Linked DNA regions of Homo sapiens: region 1 is linked to region 2. The links are contacts of gene promoters, found by promoter capture Hi-C in human tissues and cell types (Jung and others, 2019). All regions are on one chromosome and are shown on one strand. Each heading gives the region's core, a stretch centred on a gene start or on the middle of the fragment in contact. The rest is flanking DNA. Distances are from core to core; before and after follow the strand shown.

What was found. Contacts are between HindIII fragments. The study calls those that stand out against the background at their distance.
Region 1: the fragment with the promoter of LRRC3 here is called in contact with the fragment with the promoter of TRPM2 in region 2 in 1 of the 25 tissues and cell types used here (mesendoderm cells).

Annotation. Positions count from the first base shown.
Region 1 is chr21:44,453,177-44,460,646 of GRCh38, forward strand. LRRC3 (leucine rich repeat containing 3) reads left to right here and starts at 2,334. Exons shown (of 2, transcript NM_030891.6): 1 at 2,334-2,479; 2 at 3,322-7,470. The coding sequence starts at 3,469. The coding sequence ends at 4,242. It overlaps LRRC3-DT (LRRC3 divergent transcript), which reads right to left and starts at 2,108. Exons shown (of 4, transcript NR_047476.1): 1 at 2,068-2,108; 2 at 1,801-1,876. RefSeq lists enhancers at 1,331-1,831, 6,735-7,470 and silencers at 1,995-2,174, 2,263-2,692. The HindIII fragment of the contact is 13,764 bases long and covers 365-7,470 here.
Region 2 is chr21:44,352,267-44,359,625 of GRCh38, forward strand. It overlaps TRPM2 (transient receptor potential cation channel subfamily M member 2), which reads left to right and starts at 1,355. Exons shown (of 32, transcript NM_003307.4): 1 at 1,355-1,599; 2 at 2,382-2,470. The coding sequence starts at 1,435. RefSeq lists enhancers at 1,571-1,620, 1,781-1,830. The HindIII fragment of the contact is 21,861 bases long and covers 1-7,359 here.

The DNA.
Region 1 (7,470 bases), core at 1,084-3,583, 100 kb after region 2:
TAAAGAGTGGAAGTCAATGAAAAAAAAGTGCATCAACGAAACCAAAAAGCTATTTCTTTGAGAAGATCAATACAATTGATAAACTGCTATCTGATTGTTCAGTTAAAAAAAAAGCCACAATTGCCAGTATCAGAAATGAGAAAGATGACATCACCTCATACTTCACAGATGTTGAAAGGATAAAGGAATATTATGAACAACTTTATGCTAATAAATTCAACAACTTATATGCGATGGGCAATTTCTTGAGCGATACAAACTACATACATTCAGTCAAGAATAAAATAAACTCAGCAGTTGTATATCCATTAAATAATTCAACCACATATAAAAATGATAATACATCATGACCACGTGGGCTTTATCCCAAGAACACAAGATTGATTTAACACTTTAAAATCAATCATTATACTCTATCATATTAATAGATCATCACGCAAAAAGATTCTCAATAGATGCAGAAAAAACAAAATCCAACTTTCATTCCTGATTAAAAAGACTCTCAGCAAACAAGAGAAAGGATAGTCTTTTCAACAGTCTGGAAAAAACTGATTATCCACATACACAAAAAATAAACATTGAATCATATCTCATACTATAAACCCAAATAAACTTAAAATAGGTAATAGACCCAAATGCAAACCTTTAAAACTCTAAAACCCTTGTGACTTTGGGTGAGGCAAAGATTTCTTATATATGACACCAAAAGCAGGATCCATAAAAGAAAAACATAAATTGGATTTCCTCAAAATTAAAAAATTCTGCTCTTTGAAAAACTGTTAAGAGAATGAACACACAATCCAAAGGCTTGGAGAAAGCATTTACAGATCACATATCTGATAAAGGACTTGTATCCAGAATATGCAACAAACTCCCAAACTCAATAATAAGAAAATAAACAACCCAATTAAAAGTGAGTAAAAGATTTGAACTCAACGCTTACTACAGGAGATGGAGAATAAACAGATGAAATGATGCTCAACATCATTGGCCAACAGGGAAACGCAAATTAAAACCACAGTTCCATCTATCACCACACACCTATTAGAGTATTTGAAATTAAAAAGACAAACCATACCAAGTGCTGGGGAGGATGTGGAATGTAAAACCATACAATCGCTTTGGCAGTTTCTTAAAAAGTTTCACATATGGCTACCGTGGCATCCAGCCACTCCACTCCTAGACATCTATTCAAGAGAAAGAAAAGCATTCATCCAAAGACTTGTGCACAATGTTCGGATCAGCTTTATCTGTAAGAGCCAACACCAGAAACAACCCAAATGCCCACCAGCAGGTGAATGGACACAAACTGTGGTACATTCATACACTGGAGTACCATGCAGCTGTAAAAGAAATACGCATTGACAAACCAAATGACGCAGGCAAATCTCAAAAATAATTGTGCTGAGTGAAAGAAGCTACACAAAAAGTACATATTATATGATTCCATTTGTGCAAATCATAGGAAATGCAAAGTAATCAGTAGTGACAGAATGCAGATCAGTGCTTGCCTGGGGATGAGGGAGGGCAGGGAGAGATGACCAAGAGGGAACCCGGGGTGTTCACTATGCTGATTGTGGTGATGGTTTCACAGGAGTATCCGAGTGTTAAAACGTACCAAATTGAAATATGTGGCTTACCGTCTGTCAATTACACCACAATAAGGCTACTTTTTGAAAACCATGAGGATGGCTCAGGTCCGGCTCAAATGCCCCCACCCTGCGTTCCTTCCTTGGGATGTCAGACGCTGGAGCTGGAGCAGAAGGGGACCTAGATGGGCGGAGATCTAGCCCTACTCACCCACTGGCCACGGGGTAGGCGAGGGACGCTCAGCAGGGGCTTCCCGCAGACCCAGGGTCTTCAAGCCCCAGAAGTCCTGATGCCAGAGGGAAGAGGGGATTTGCCCAGAGTGAGGGGCAGGGGCTGGACCCACAGCCCCTCCCGGCGCGCAGACCCCGCCCCCACCCATAACCACGCCCTCAGCCCCCACCACCTCGTCCTCAGCCCCACAACCACGCCCCCAGCATGCCACAATTACTCCCACAACCCGCCCACAGCCCCTGCGACCTGGGTCTTAGTACCAGCTCCATCTAAAGCCGCACCACCGGCCCCTCCCATGCCCCTCCCATGCCCCTCCCCCATCTCTTCCAGGCCCCGCCCTGCCGCAGAACCCGCCCTCAAGCCCCGCCCCCGCCTAACCACAAATCCCGTTCCGGTCTCCTTACATGCCCCGCCCCTTCCCCGCCCCCGCGGGGAATCGACACAGCCTGTCTCCGCCTTTCGCCCCGCCCCCTCCAGGCCCCGCCCCACCCCGCCCCTCGCCCGCGCAGGCCGGAGTCGCGGCCTCCCCAGCTAGTGGTCGCGGGCGCGGTCGCAGGGGCAGCGGGGTGGCCGCCGCGCCAGGCGTGGAGCTGGGTCTGGCGGGCTCCGAGAGGCCCGGGAGCGGCGCGCAGAGCAGCCTCCGGCCGCCGCCGCGCAGGTAAAGCCCCCGCCCAGCCCTGGGAGCGTGGATTCCCACCCACCCCATGACCATCCCCCCGCCGCGAGTGCTGGGGTCTCGGGGGTCCCAGGTTCCGGGGGTCCTAGGGCCGGAGGGTCTAAAGGCTGGAGGTCCTGGGGGTCCGAGCCTCTCCCGGCCGGCTCCGCGCGCGGCCCCGCCGTCCACGCCCAGCGCGGGCCGCGCGCACAGGGCTTGGCTTCTCTGTTTTCTCGGTTTCCTTCTTCAGGCAGTTGAAAGAAAAGGCGCGGTTCTGTGCCCGGTGCGAGCCGCGGCTCCTTTAGGGCTGGCAGGGAAGGGCTTGCTGGGTTATGACAGTTTTTAGGGGTTGTCGGAGTCAGCCAGGCGTTGGCTGCTGGAGTAGCCCCTGGCGCGCGAGCGCCCGCTGGTGCCCGGCCACGTGCCCAGCTTGACCCGCGCTCCAGGTTCGGGAGAAGCTGCAGCCGTCACCGTCCTCCTGGCGTCCACCCTGAGGAGGGAGGGGCTGGGTGGTCCAAGCCGCCGCCACTCCGCCGCCCGGCCTTTGGTCCCCAGCGGTGCTGTAGGTGGCCAGGGGTGGCCGCAGTGACCACCCACTGGGCCATGCGGAGCCCCCTGGCAGTGCCAGCTCCCTGCACTTGTGGGACGCTCCTCCCGGGCGCATTGGGAGTCTCCAGAAGTAAGTTACAGGCAGAGCTGTTTAAGGAGGCGTGCTCCCCACCCCAGACCCTTCAGTGGGCCCTCAACACCCTCCCCACCAGTGGACGCGTTTCCCAGGTGACCGCAGCCGGCAGTGCTGACCACCCTCCCTCCCTCTCCGCTCCCTCCTGCGTCTTCCCTTTCAGAGCTGCCAGAGTGGACTGCACTGCTTCTCCCAGCGGGGCAGGATGGCGGTTTCATGTCTGGTTGGATAAGGCCTTGCCTGCGGAAACCAGCTCCATCCCCAGGCCCTAGCAGAGGCTCGCGTGTCCCCGTCCCCAGGTCAGGTCAGGATGGGCACCGTGCGCCCACCTCGCCCCTCGCTCCTGCTGGTCTCCACCCGGGAGTCTTGTCTCTTCCTCCTCTTCTGCCTGCACCTGGGCGCCGCCTGCCCACAGCCCTGCCGGTGCCCTGACCACGCAGGGGCTGTGGCTGTCTTCTGCAGCTTGCGGGGCCTTCAGGAGGTCCCCGAGGACATCCCGGCCAACACCGTGCTCCTGAAGCTCGATGCCAACAAGATCTCCCACCTCCCGGACGGGGCCTTCCAGCACCTGCACCGGCTCAGGGAGCTGGATCTGTCTCACAACGCCATCGAGGCCATCGGCTCCGCCACCTTCGCGGGCCTGGCCGGGGGCCTGCGGCTGCTGGACCTGTCTTACAACCGCATCCAGAGGATCCCCAAGGACGCCCTGGGCAAACTCAGCGCCAAGATACGCCTGTCCCACAACCCCCTGCACTGCGAGTGCGCCCTGCAGGAGGCCCTGTGGGAGCTGAAGCTGGACCCCGACTCTGTGGACGAGATCGCCTGCCACACCTCAGTGCAGGAGGAGTTTGTGGGGAAGCCTCTGGTTCAGGCTCTGGATGCGGGTGCCAGCCTCTGCAGCGTCCCCCACAGGACCACAGACGTGGCCATGCTGGTCACCATGTTCGGCTGGTTCGCCATGGTGATCGCCTACGTCGTGTACTATGTGCGCCACAACCAGGAGGATGCCCGGAGGCACCTGGAGTACCTGAAGTCTCTGCCCAGCGCCCCCGCCTCCAAGGACCCCATCGGCCCGGGGCCCTAGCGCCTGTTCCGGCAGACCCCCGCCGGTGGCTGCTGTCACTTTTGTAGTAGGTGGTGACTGATGCTGCTTTTGCTCTTCCCTGAGGCAGGTGTCACAGCCATGTGTGCTCCCCACTGTTGCACTCAGGCACAGCAGCACCTCCAGGCTGGGTGGTTTTGCCACACATCCGTGTGACGGATGAGGAACCTGAAGCTTAGAGGAACGGAATGACTGCCCGTGACGATACCATCAGGAAATTATCCCAGTGGAACTTCAACCCGGGCTGTCCATCGTGACATTCCGCCTCCTTCCACCATGCCAGCCTCTCCCACACGGGGCCCTGCAGGCTGTGGATATGCACTCAGAGGACTAAGGGGGTGCTCTGCAAGCGAGAGGGTTCACCAGAGGGAGCTTGGGTGCAGGTTCACCCGCTGAAGGCGCTGATAAGTCCTGTGCTGAGGAGCTGACTTGCCCTTGTTTACTTACAAAGTGCATTGTAGGTAAACATGAGCCTTGTTCCAGTGTTCGAAGTACATTGGAACGTAAGCCCTGTTTCCAGAGCAAAGTAACAGAGACCAGGTTTTTCTAGAGAGCTAAGTGGGATGTGTAGCTCAAACAAACTGTCCTACCCTTTTTTATTCTCAAATGTTTGTTTTGAGTAACCGTAGTGCCAAAATTTCAGTTCAGTAATGGGGTGAACAATATGGAGAGAGACCTGGGAAAAGTCCAGGGTAGCTTGCCCAGGGGAAGACAGCAGCCACATACCTGGGGGCCCGCCTGCTTCCTGCCCCTCTGGGTGTGCCTGATGCGGGAGGCCCTGCCCCAGGGCGATCTCAGCTCACTGCAACCTTTGCCTCCCAGGCTCAATCACTTCTGCTGCCTCAGCCTCCCTAGTAGCTGGAATTACAGGCATGAGCCACCACGCCTGGCTAATTTTTGTATTTTTAGTAGAGACCGGGTTTCACCATGTTGGCCAGGCTGGTCTCGAACTGTTGGCCTCAAGTGATCCGCCCGCCTCAGCCTCCCAAAGTGCTGGGATTACAGGCGTCAGCCACCGCGCCCGGCCCTGTGCCTTGCTTTTTCTACTCACTAAGATATAAAACAGCTCTTTTTCCAAGGCCCGGAGTACTGGGGATTGATGTTTCAAGGCCAATCAATGGGATGCTTCGTTTTCTCCAGCAACAGGAACTCTCTCTTTTCACCTTTGCTGCCAGGAATCTCAGAGATAATTTAGTGCTCAATTTACTAACCTTACTTCACATTCAGGTTAGATGTTACCTCCACCTATATGATAGTAATTCCTAATTTTATTTTTTATTGTCCTTTTTATGAGTGTTTATATTTTAAAGTACTTTGAGTATTTTTGGGGGGGGTGTAAATGAGTGATCAGTGTACATTGTGTGTGGACTGAAGTGTAGGTATGTAGAGATGCTTCGCCAAACAGATGCTTAAAAATGAATGGAAGTTGAGGGTGGTTTCTCTTTGGAAAGTATCAGGTGACTTGGAAGGTGAGAGCCTGTCCAGGGTGTGTGCACTGGTTCTGAGGTACCCCGTGTGTGCAGTGTGAGTCACGGGGGTGTCTGTGTTGTGAGGTGCTTGGTAGGCTTTGCTCTGCCCACAGTGCAGACGCGGGGTGGGTGAGGGGCCAGGCCCAGTGTATGAGTGGAGGCAGCCCCAGGCTCCGCCTGCTTCCCTCACGCCACGCTGCCTGAGTGTCGCCATGCTCGGAGGACAGAGACCTCCACGGAAACTGGCAGCGCCACTCACCCTTCCAGTGAGAGCTAGAACCAAGTGCCAGCCCCCGGGGGTGCACCCGTGCTGGTGTGGGGCCACGTGGTCCTTGTGGTCCAGGCAGGGCCAGCATGTGGCGGGGTGTCCAGCTCCACTGTTTGGAGGAAGTGGGCGCTGACACAGCAGAGTGCCCTGGGCCCGTGGGGATTTCCTTCCAGAGGACACGTGGCTGAAAGCATAGGATAAGGATGTATAGGTGAATGACTGGTGCCATCCCTGGCTGTCTGATAGATGCAGGTAGGGCAGGTGAACTGTTGCTGGCCTGGCCAGCAGGCCTAGGGTCACATGGTGATTGGCGTCCTCCTGCCACCCCTTCTCCATGCCAGGGTGCCTGTGGTGGGTTTGCCCAGCACGCATGACCCCAGGTCCCAAGGAGAGTGTGAACTGAGGCCTGGGTGGTGAAGGCAGGGCCTCTCCTCAGCCCTGTGTCCTGTGGGTGCCAGCCAGTCCCATCTCGCATTTTGGGGTGCCCTTTCCCTGCTGCCAGGGGACTCTTCATTTGTCCTTACCCTAGAATCAGCCCAGACACTGGACATCACCCAGACGTGGCCCTTCAGGAGGTGCACAGGGCAGGGGCAGGCCCGTCCCTCCCTGCCCCAATTTGCTGGGCTGCCTCAGCCCAGGGTCTGGCCTTCTCCTTGGTGAAGGTCTGCTGGGCCCCTGTCCACCTCCTGCTGGGAGGAGGAGATGGGGAGAGGACCAGGAGGACACCGGAGGCCCTGTCCCCTGCACTGTGAGCTCAGTCAGGTCCATGAGCTGCCCACCGTCCTGGCCTTACTGTGCCCCCTGCCCCACCAACATAGGTGAAAGCACCTCCCCTCTAAGGAAGACCATAGAGACCCCAACACTGTGGGACCCCAAAGCTCCTTCATGCTCACTGGAGCTCCCACCGTGGGTGCTTGCAAGTCCTCAGCGCTCCCGGGGTACAGCCCTCCCCTTCCTGCCCTCTAATGTCCTCCCCTCCCTTGCCCTTCCCTCCACTTCCTTTCTCTGCCGTCCCCTCCTCTCCCATCTTGTGACCTCTTTACTGGCGGGGCCTGGAGCCCATGATGGACACTTGCGGAAGGAGGGGTGGCGGAGCACCCCTGAGATGACATCGCTGCCTGCCCCAGAGCACCCCGCCTCTCCCTGTGACTCAGTTCTTTGCAGCCCAGATGTGAGCATGTGCACCCTGGGACCTGCTGCCCGTTGGGATGCCCAGGCCAAATCAGCCCCTCTGCCTCCATGCTGCACTGATTGCAAGAGTTTCCCACATCTGCAGAGGCCGTGGGCTCAGCCCCACACCAGCCAGGCCACCAGTGTTGATAGCGGTGAGGCGGGGACAAAGGGAATGTCTCAGTTCACAGTGTGGACATGGTGGAGGTCTCGGCCTTGCGAGACAAGGCAGGGGGAGGGGATAGGAAATTGGGGGTATTCTGTGACTCCTGGGCCACCGGGGAGCCAGAATCTTCCAGCCAG
Region 2 (7,359 bases), core at 105-2,604:
CCCTGCCATCCTGCCAGTGAAGTTTACGGGTCTCGGAATGAGTGTGGCCAAGGGGCAAAGGGGAGGAGGGAGAGGGGGAGGTGGGGTTGCCTGAGAGTGCCCGCCCCAGGACAGCAGCCCGTAGCTCAGCCCCAAGAGCCCGGCACCGAGCTTCGAGCTGCGTGGCCCCGAAGAGGGGCTCAGTCACCTAATGTGATGAGGGGACGGCAGAGCAAAGGCTTGTCTGACAGTGACCGTCGTGTGTAGTGGAGAGGACGTGGCCAGAGATCTGGTTTCAGGGCAGGGATGAGGGGGGATTCCAGTCAGATCTTTTGCATCCCAGCAACCCTCCCCTTGACACCTTTGGGGCAGTGGCAGGGGATGACCATGGATGACCTCATGAGAACACTGTGGGTGTCAGGGACTCAGGGAGGCCCCGCAGGGCTTGAACATGCTTATGTTTCTCATTTGTAAAGGGAGGGCAGTCATCCGGTGGCTTCTTGTGGCCTCGGTGATGAAGGCCACATCAGAGCCAGGGGGAAAGGATATGAGAGAAAAAGATTCATTTGAATTATTGTCTTTTTCCTGGAGTGGAGAGATGTGGTACTCCCCAAAACTTCCTTTCTAGGCTGGGCACAGTGGCTCACGCCTGTAAAACCAGCACTTTGGGAAGCGGAGGCTGGTGGATCGCCTGAGGTCAGGAGTTTGAGACCAACCTGACCAACATGGTGAAACCCTGTTGCTACTACATACAAAAAAAATTAGCAGGGTGTGGTGATTGGCGCCCATAATCCCAGCTACTGGGGAGGCTAAGGCAGGAGAATCACTTGAACCAGGGAGACCGAGGTTGCAGTGAGCCGAGACTGCGTCACTGAACTCCAGCCTGAGCGACAAAGTGGGACTCCGTCTCAAAAAACAAGAAGAAAAAGAAACTTCCTTTGTGGACAGTGAGGGCTATTTAAAAAAATTTTGGAATATGAAAGTAGTCACTGGTGTCTGGAAGCAGGAGCTGTGCAGAATTGTACAGTTGCGAAACCATGTCGCTGGCAGCTGGTGCTGGCGGTGGAGACTTCCCTGTGCGGTGCTCAGTGCAGCTGCACCCGTGGGGGAGGGAGCTCTTTCTCTGGCCCTGCAGTCACCTGAGGTTGTTACCATTATGAACGGCCGCTGGGACCCCCGCATGTGCATGTACTCCCCCAGAGTGTCCGGGGGCCCCAGCCAAGGGACACAGCTCAGGCAGCTGGGAACATGTGCAGGCTGATGAAGAGAACCGGATGAGGGCTTCACATGAGGAAGCATGTGGCCAGGTCCTCTCAGAACATCAGCCTCATCTTCCTGTCTCTGATCTATTTCAGCAACCACCCCATGTGTCTCTAGAACCCCAGTGTAGCGAGCTGGAGAGAGGACTGTCCTGAGGGCAGCAGGCCTGGTTGCAGCTGGCGTGGGGGTCTCAGAATGGAGCCCTCAGCCCTGAGGAAAGCTGGCTCGGAGCAGGAGGAGGGCTTTGAGGGGCTGCCCAGAAGGGTCACTGACCTGGGGATGGTCTCCAATCTCCGGCGCAGCAACAGCAGCCTCTTCAAGAGCTGGAGGCTACAGTGCCCCTTCGGCAACAATGACAAGGTAGGCTTTCTGCTGGTCAGCCTGCAGTTGGCACGTGGCCACGGAGGTCACCGTTGGGCAGGTCATAGCTTGAGGCTGTGACGACGGGGGTGGGAAAGGGTCTGCTGACCTTGGGGGCTCCTGCCCAACCATACCTTTGGGAGAACAGAACTGGGGAGGGTGATGCGTGTCTCGTCTTCTGTGGGTTGCATGACCATTTCCCATGGTTGGTCTGATTGGGAAATCACCGGGTTAACTCAAAAATGTTGCGCTAGAGTCCTGGAAATCTGTTACCCGTGCTTACCTTGTTGCATAATGATTTCACATCCTTTATCCGATTGGGAGGGCCTGGGCCTGGGCTAGCTTTCCCCAAAGCCCTGGATACAAAGACACAAGTATGTTGAAAGCACATGGCATCTTGCAGTCCCCTTGCCAGGCAGGCAGGAGGGTGGCTGCCCTTTTTCCGATGGTGCAAGATCCAGGTCCCCAGATCCCCAGCCTCCACGTTTTCCACCACACCATGTTGTTCCCAAGGAAGGTGGTGGTGCTGTAGAAACTGTAAAGTGCGCGCACATTCAAAATGGTCCCAAGAGGAAATGATTTCTTAGATTCATTCCTCCCTCCTGAATCCCCACCGGAGAGTCTTGGCAAGGTGCTTCTAATCTTTGGCTCAGGGTCGCGCAGGCTTCCTTCCTTCAAGCAAATAGTGTGAAAGCTCCTCAAGGAGCTCAGATGTGTCTCCAGGGGGCTGGGTGTGCTCTTTCGAATGTTGGAAGATCTCAGTGTGCTGTCTTTACCTTCAGCAAGAAAGCCTCAGTTCGTGGATTCCTGAAAACATCAAGAAGAAAGAATGCGTGTATTTTGTGGAAAGTTCCAAACTGTCTGATGCTGGGTAAGTGACGTGATTTGTGTGTAAGACCTCTGACTTCTTCCTTCCGATCCCACATGGAGTAGCTGATCAGGCCAAGACCCCTCAGGGCCTCAGTGAAGGGTCACTGGAGATACCTCTGTCTCCATACGAGGCTTAGAGTCCACAGAGCATTTCCACCTAACCCTTGCAAGCCTCCTGTCGGGGACAGTTGACCCTCATCCTGCCTCGCAGGTGCAGGGACCAAAGTGCAGAGTTTAGGTGACTTGTTCAGGGTCATAAGGGCACTGTCGCGCGGCGAGGCCCAGTGGTGTGAACACAGATGCATCCTCTAATCCTCTCATTTCCACACCTGCCCCCACCCCAAGAGAGAGAGTCCCAGGGTCCAGGAACTGGAAGGGCCTTAGGGAGAGTCCATGGCCAGAAGACTGCCCCCCTGCACAGCTTGCCAAAGCCAGAGGCCCGACTTGCCCCCAGGCCCCACAGAGCCCCCTTTGCCCCTCCTCCCCACAGAGCCCACGACTCAGGTGTGGCCAAGACCCCCGCCCAGGCAACATGGCCACTGTCTCTGAGTGGCTGGATATGGCCCTCCGGAGCCGATGGTGCTCCCCGCAGTTGGCGCCCCTTTAGGCACGGACAGAGTGTTGATTCATGTTTGTGTGCCCTCCCCGAGCAACACCCATTTCATGCTCTTCCACAAATGGGCCACACGCTTCCTCCTTTTACTCCATTGCCTGGTGAGCTCCTACTTATCCCTCAAGGCCTATTGCAGATGCTGCCTCTGCCGTGCAGCCTTCCGTGACTATACAACCTCTACCAGGAAGTGAGCTTCCCTCCTACCGCACCGTGTGTTTCTCTTTGATCCCAGCTGTCGTGCTGTAACTGTGTGGCTTTGTGTTCATCTTTCTTGCTAGCTGCTGAGCTTCTGGGGGGCTGGGACGAAAGCAGAGTGTTGTGTTAATTCCCAGAGAGTGGCCTTCAGCTCATATTTACTGAATATGGGGAGGGAGAAGCATCCTGTGCTTGGGAAATAGAAGAAGACTGTGTTGCCCCAGGGTACCTCTAGTGTACTCGGTACATCATCAGAGTTTCACGGTCACCAATACAACAGCTGTCCCTCCGCATCCCTGGGGAATTGTTCCCGGACACCCACGGACACCAAAATCCCATATCTCGTATCAGTCCCAAAATCTCATATCAAGTCACTGATATGAGATGGTGTGGTATTTGCATATAAACTATGTACATCCTTCAGCATACTTTAAATCATCTCTAGATTACTTATAATACCTGATACAATGTAGATGTTATAAAAATAGTTATACTGCATTTAAAAAATTTGTATTTTTGGGCCGGGCGCGGTGGCTCACGCCTGTAATCCCAGCACTTTGGGAGGCCGAGGCAGGTGATCCACCCGCCTCGGCCTCCCAAAGTGCTGGGATTACAGGCGTGAGCCACTGCATCTGGCTATGTTATTTTTAATTGTTTTTTTTTTCCTGAATATTTTTAGTCTGCGTTTGGCTGAATCTGCAGATGCAAAACTCGCGGCCATGGAGGGCTGGATGTAGAGACAGTGATGAAGAGCCCCATGTGGAAGGAGCGGGGTCTGTAGAGCAGTGGTACTCCAGCCTCGGAGCTCACCCTTGTTACTGGAAAGGGGTCCCGATCCAGACCCCAAGGGCGGGTTCTTGGATCTCACACGAGAAAGTATTTGGAGCGAGTCCACAGAGTAAAGTGAAAGCAAGTTATTAACAATGTAAAGGAATAAAAGAATGGCTTCTCCATAGGCAGAGCAGCCCTGAGGGCTGCTGCTTGGCTATTTTTTTTTTTTTTTTTTGAGACGGGGTCTCGCTCTGTCGCCCAGGCTGGAGTGCAATGGCATGATCTTGGCTCGCTGCAACCTTCGTCTCCCAGGTTCATGCGATTCACCATGTTGGCCAGGCTGGTCTGGAACTCCTGACCTCAGGTGATCCACCAGCCTTGGCCTCCCAAAGTGCTGGGATTTCAGGCATAAGCCACCGTGCTTGGCTGGTTGGCTATTTTTATGGTAGTTTTGGATCATGTGCTTAACAAGGGTGGATTATTCATGAGTTTTATGGGAAAGGAGCGGGGATTTCCCAGAACTGATTTCCTCTTTCTTTCAGACCATACAGGGTATTTCTGATGTTGCCATGGCATCTGCCAACTGTCATGGTGCTGGTGGGAGTGTCTCTTACATGTTAATATGTTATAATTAGCGTGTAATGGGCAGCGAGGATAACCAGAGCCCACTTTCGTCGCCATCTTGGTTTTGGTGGGTTTTACCCAGTGTCTTGCACCCTGTTTTATCAGCAGGGTCTTTGTGACCTGTGTCTTCTGCTGACCTCTTGTCTCATCCTGTGACTTAGAATGCCTTAACCGTCTGGGAAGGCAGCCCAGCAGGTTTCAGCCTCATTTCACCCAGCGCCTATTCAAGATGGGACTCACTCTGGTTTGAACGCCGCTGACACCCTGACCTGCTGTGTCCTGAGAAGCCTAGGTGAGGCCCCGTGGGTCTGGGGCCTCTGCCAGTCGGCTCTGCGTGCTTCTCACATGGAAGTGGAAACCCTTGGGGCAGCAGGGCCCAGAGAGGAAGGGGTGCTGACCTGGATCAGATGTAAGCAGGACAGACTTGCTTCTGGAGGTCCCCAAAGCCATCCCCCATGCTCAGGGGTTTGCTAGGACTCACAGCTGTGCACACAGCTAAGGTTTATCATGGTGAAGGCCTACGTGATGGGCTTGGCAAGGGAGAAAGACACAGGCCGAGTCTGGAGAATCTGAGGGCAGGCTGCTGCGGCTCTCCTGTGCAGGCGCCATGCATGCTCCTTCCTCTAGCCGAGAAGCACGTGGCCACCTGCAAAGCCCATTCGAGGCTCAGAGCCCAGGGCGTGCATCCTGCGCTGGCCACGTGGGCCCCTCTGCATGGCAACCACCCAAATCCCAGACTCCCAGCAGGAAAGCAGCTGTTCAGCACAAACCCATTGCAGGAACAGTCCAGGCCCGGCAAAGCACTCCTAGCAGTCAGGGGACGGAGAGACGCTCCAAAAGCCCCGTTCCCAGACACCACCTTGAAAGCAGGCCCCTCTGAGAAGGCAACCTGAGATCTGCTGCACCGAGTCTGTCCCGCACAGAAGCCGCTCTCATCTCACCAACCACGGTGGTCACTGCAGCAGGATGGGAAGAGGGACCAGGTGTGTTCCTGGCTGTTCCTTCCTGAGGAGTGGATGGAATGTCCCTCCTTCTTGTGGAAAGACCAGGGCGGAACGAGTGGTGAGCATCGTCTGCCACAAACACAGCTTTTCAAGCAGATTTATTTATACCACTTACATGTTTCCATTAAGCATGGTAGGGTCTTCCTACCCCACTCGTCCAGACCTGGAGCCCCTCGACACCCGCCCGGGTAATCCCACTGCTTAGCCCCACGTCCTGGTAACCCTCCTCAGCTCTGCACAGACTCGTCTCATTTCCGTGTCTGCTGTGGCCACCCTGGTCCAGACCTTTGTGCTCACATTTTGCCACCATGGATCTCATGACCTTGGGCAGATGACTTCTCTTCCCTGGGCCACCAATCCTCATCTGTGAGCGCAGAGACTGGAGGGGATGCCTCAGAATTCACGCGCACATGCGGTGGGGGTGGGGAGGCAGGGAGCCCCCCTTGGGTGGCAGGAAGGAGCCCAGGTTGGAGAGAATACACCTCCAAGAGCTCTCATTTCCCGTGGGGTGCCGGGGGTGGTGTCCCGTTTACGCCTATCTGGGCCGAGTTCCGAGCGAGCTCTCCGGCGATGTAATTTCTGGATCAGTGTCCGCAATGCAGTTTCCAGCATCACATCAGGCTTGCAAACGCCATGCAGGTTCAAGTTCCAATCTCATCAGAGGTGATCGTTCAAGGACAAGAGGGACAGGAGGTAGCTTGTGATAGGCTGTTAGGAACATACAAGGACATTTGGGGCAGCATTGGAGCAAGACGGGAGAGCTCAGGTCCTTGTCTAGGGAACTCCTTTCCCCACCTCCGACCCAGGTCTCTCATCCATAAACAGTGGAGGTCACATTGTGTCCGGAGTTGGTTCCTTCCCGGGGGTCTTGGTCTCGCTGACTTCAAGAGTGAAGCCGGGGACCTTCGCGGTGAGTGTCACAGCTCTTGAAGATGGCAGGGACCCAAAGAGTGAGCAGCAGCAAGATATATTGTGAAGAGCGAAAGAACAAAGACTCCTCAGCGTGAAAGGGGACCCGAGCAGTTTGCCGCTGCTGGCTGGAGGGGTGGCCAGCTTTTATTCCCTTATTTGTCCCCGCCCGTGTCCTGCTGATTGGTCCATTTTACAGAGCGCTGATTGGTCCATTTTACAGAGCACTGCTTGGTCCATTTTACAGTGTGCTGATTGGTCCATTTTACAGAGCACTGCTTGGTCCATTTTACAGTGTGCTGATTGGTCCATTTTACAGAGCATGGCTTGGTCCATTTTACAGTGTGCGGATTGGTCCATTTTACAGAGCACCAATTGGTCCATTTTATGGTGTGCTGATTGGCGCATTTTACAATCCTCTTGTAAGACAGAAAAGTTCTCCAAGTCCGCACCCAACCCAGAAGTCTAGCTGGCTTCACCTCTCAACATCAGGTGCTCGCAAGATCCCTGCAAGTCTGAAGTGCCTTGAGCGTGACCTTAGGGGTTTGTACGGATTTGGATTTGTAGGGTGCACATCCGGGAGGAATTATTTTTTCCATTTTAATGATTGAGAAACTGAGTGTAGAAACATCCGAGATCACACAGTCAATACGTGGCGGGGAAACCTGTTTCCTTTCTCACTGCTCAGTGGTCTTTCCCCTGTGCCATCTGGTTCAGGTTTCATCTGGTTTTAGAGTTTTTTTGTTTGTTTTTTTTTAATTCCCTTATTTGTCC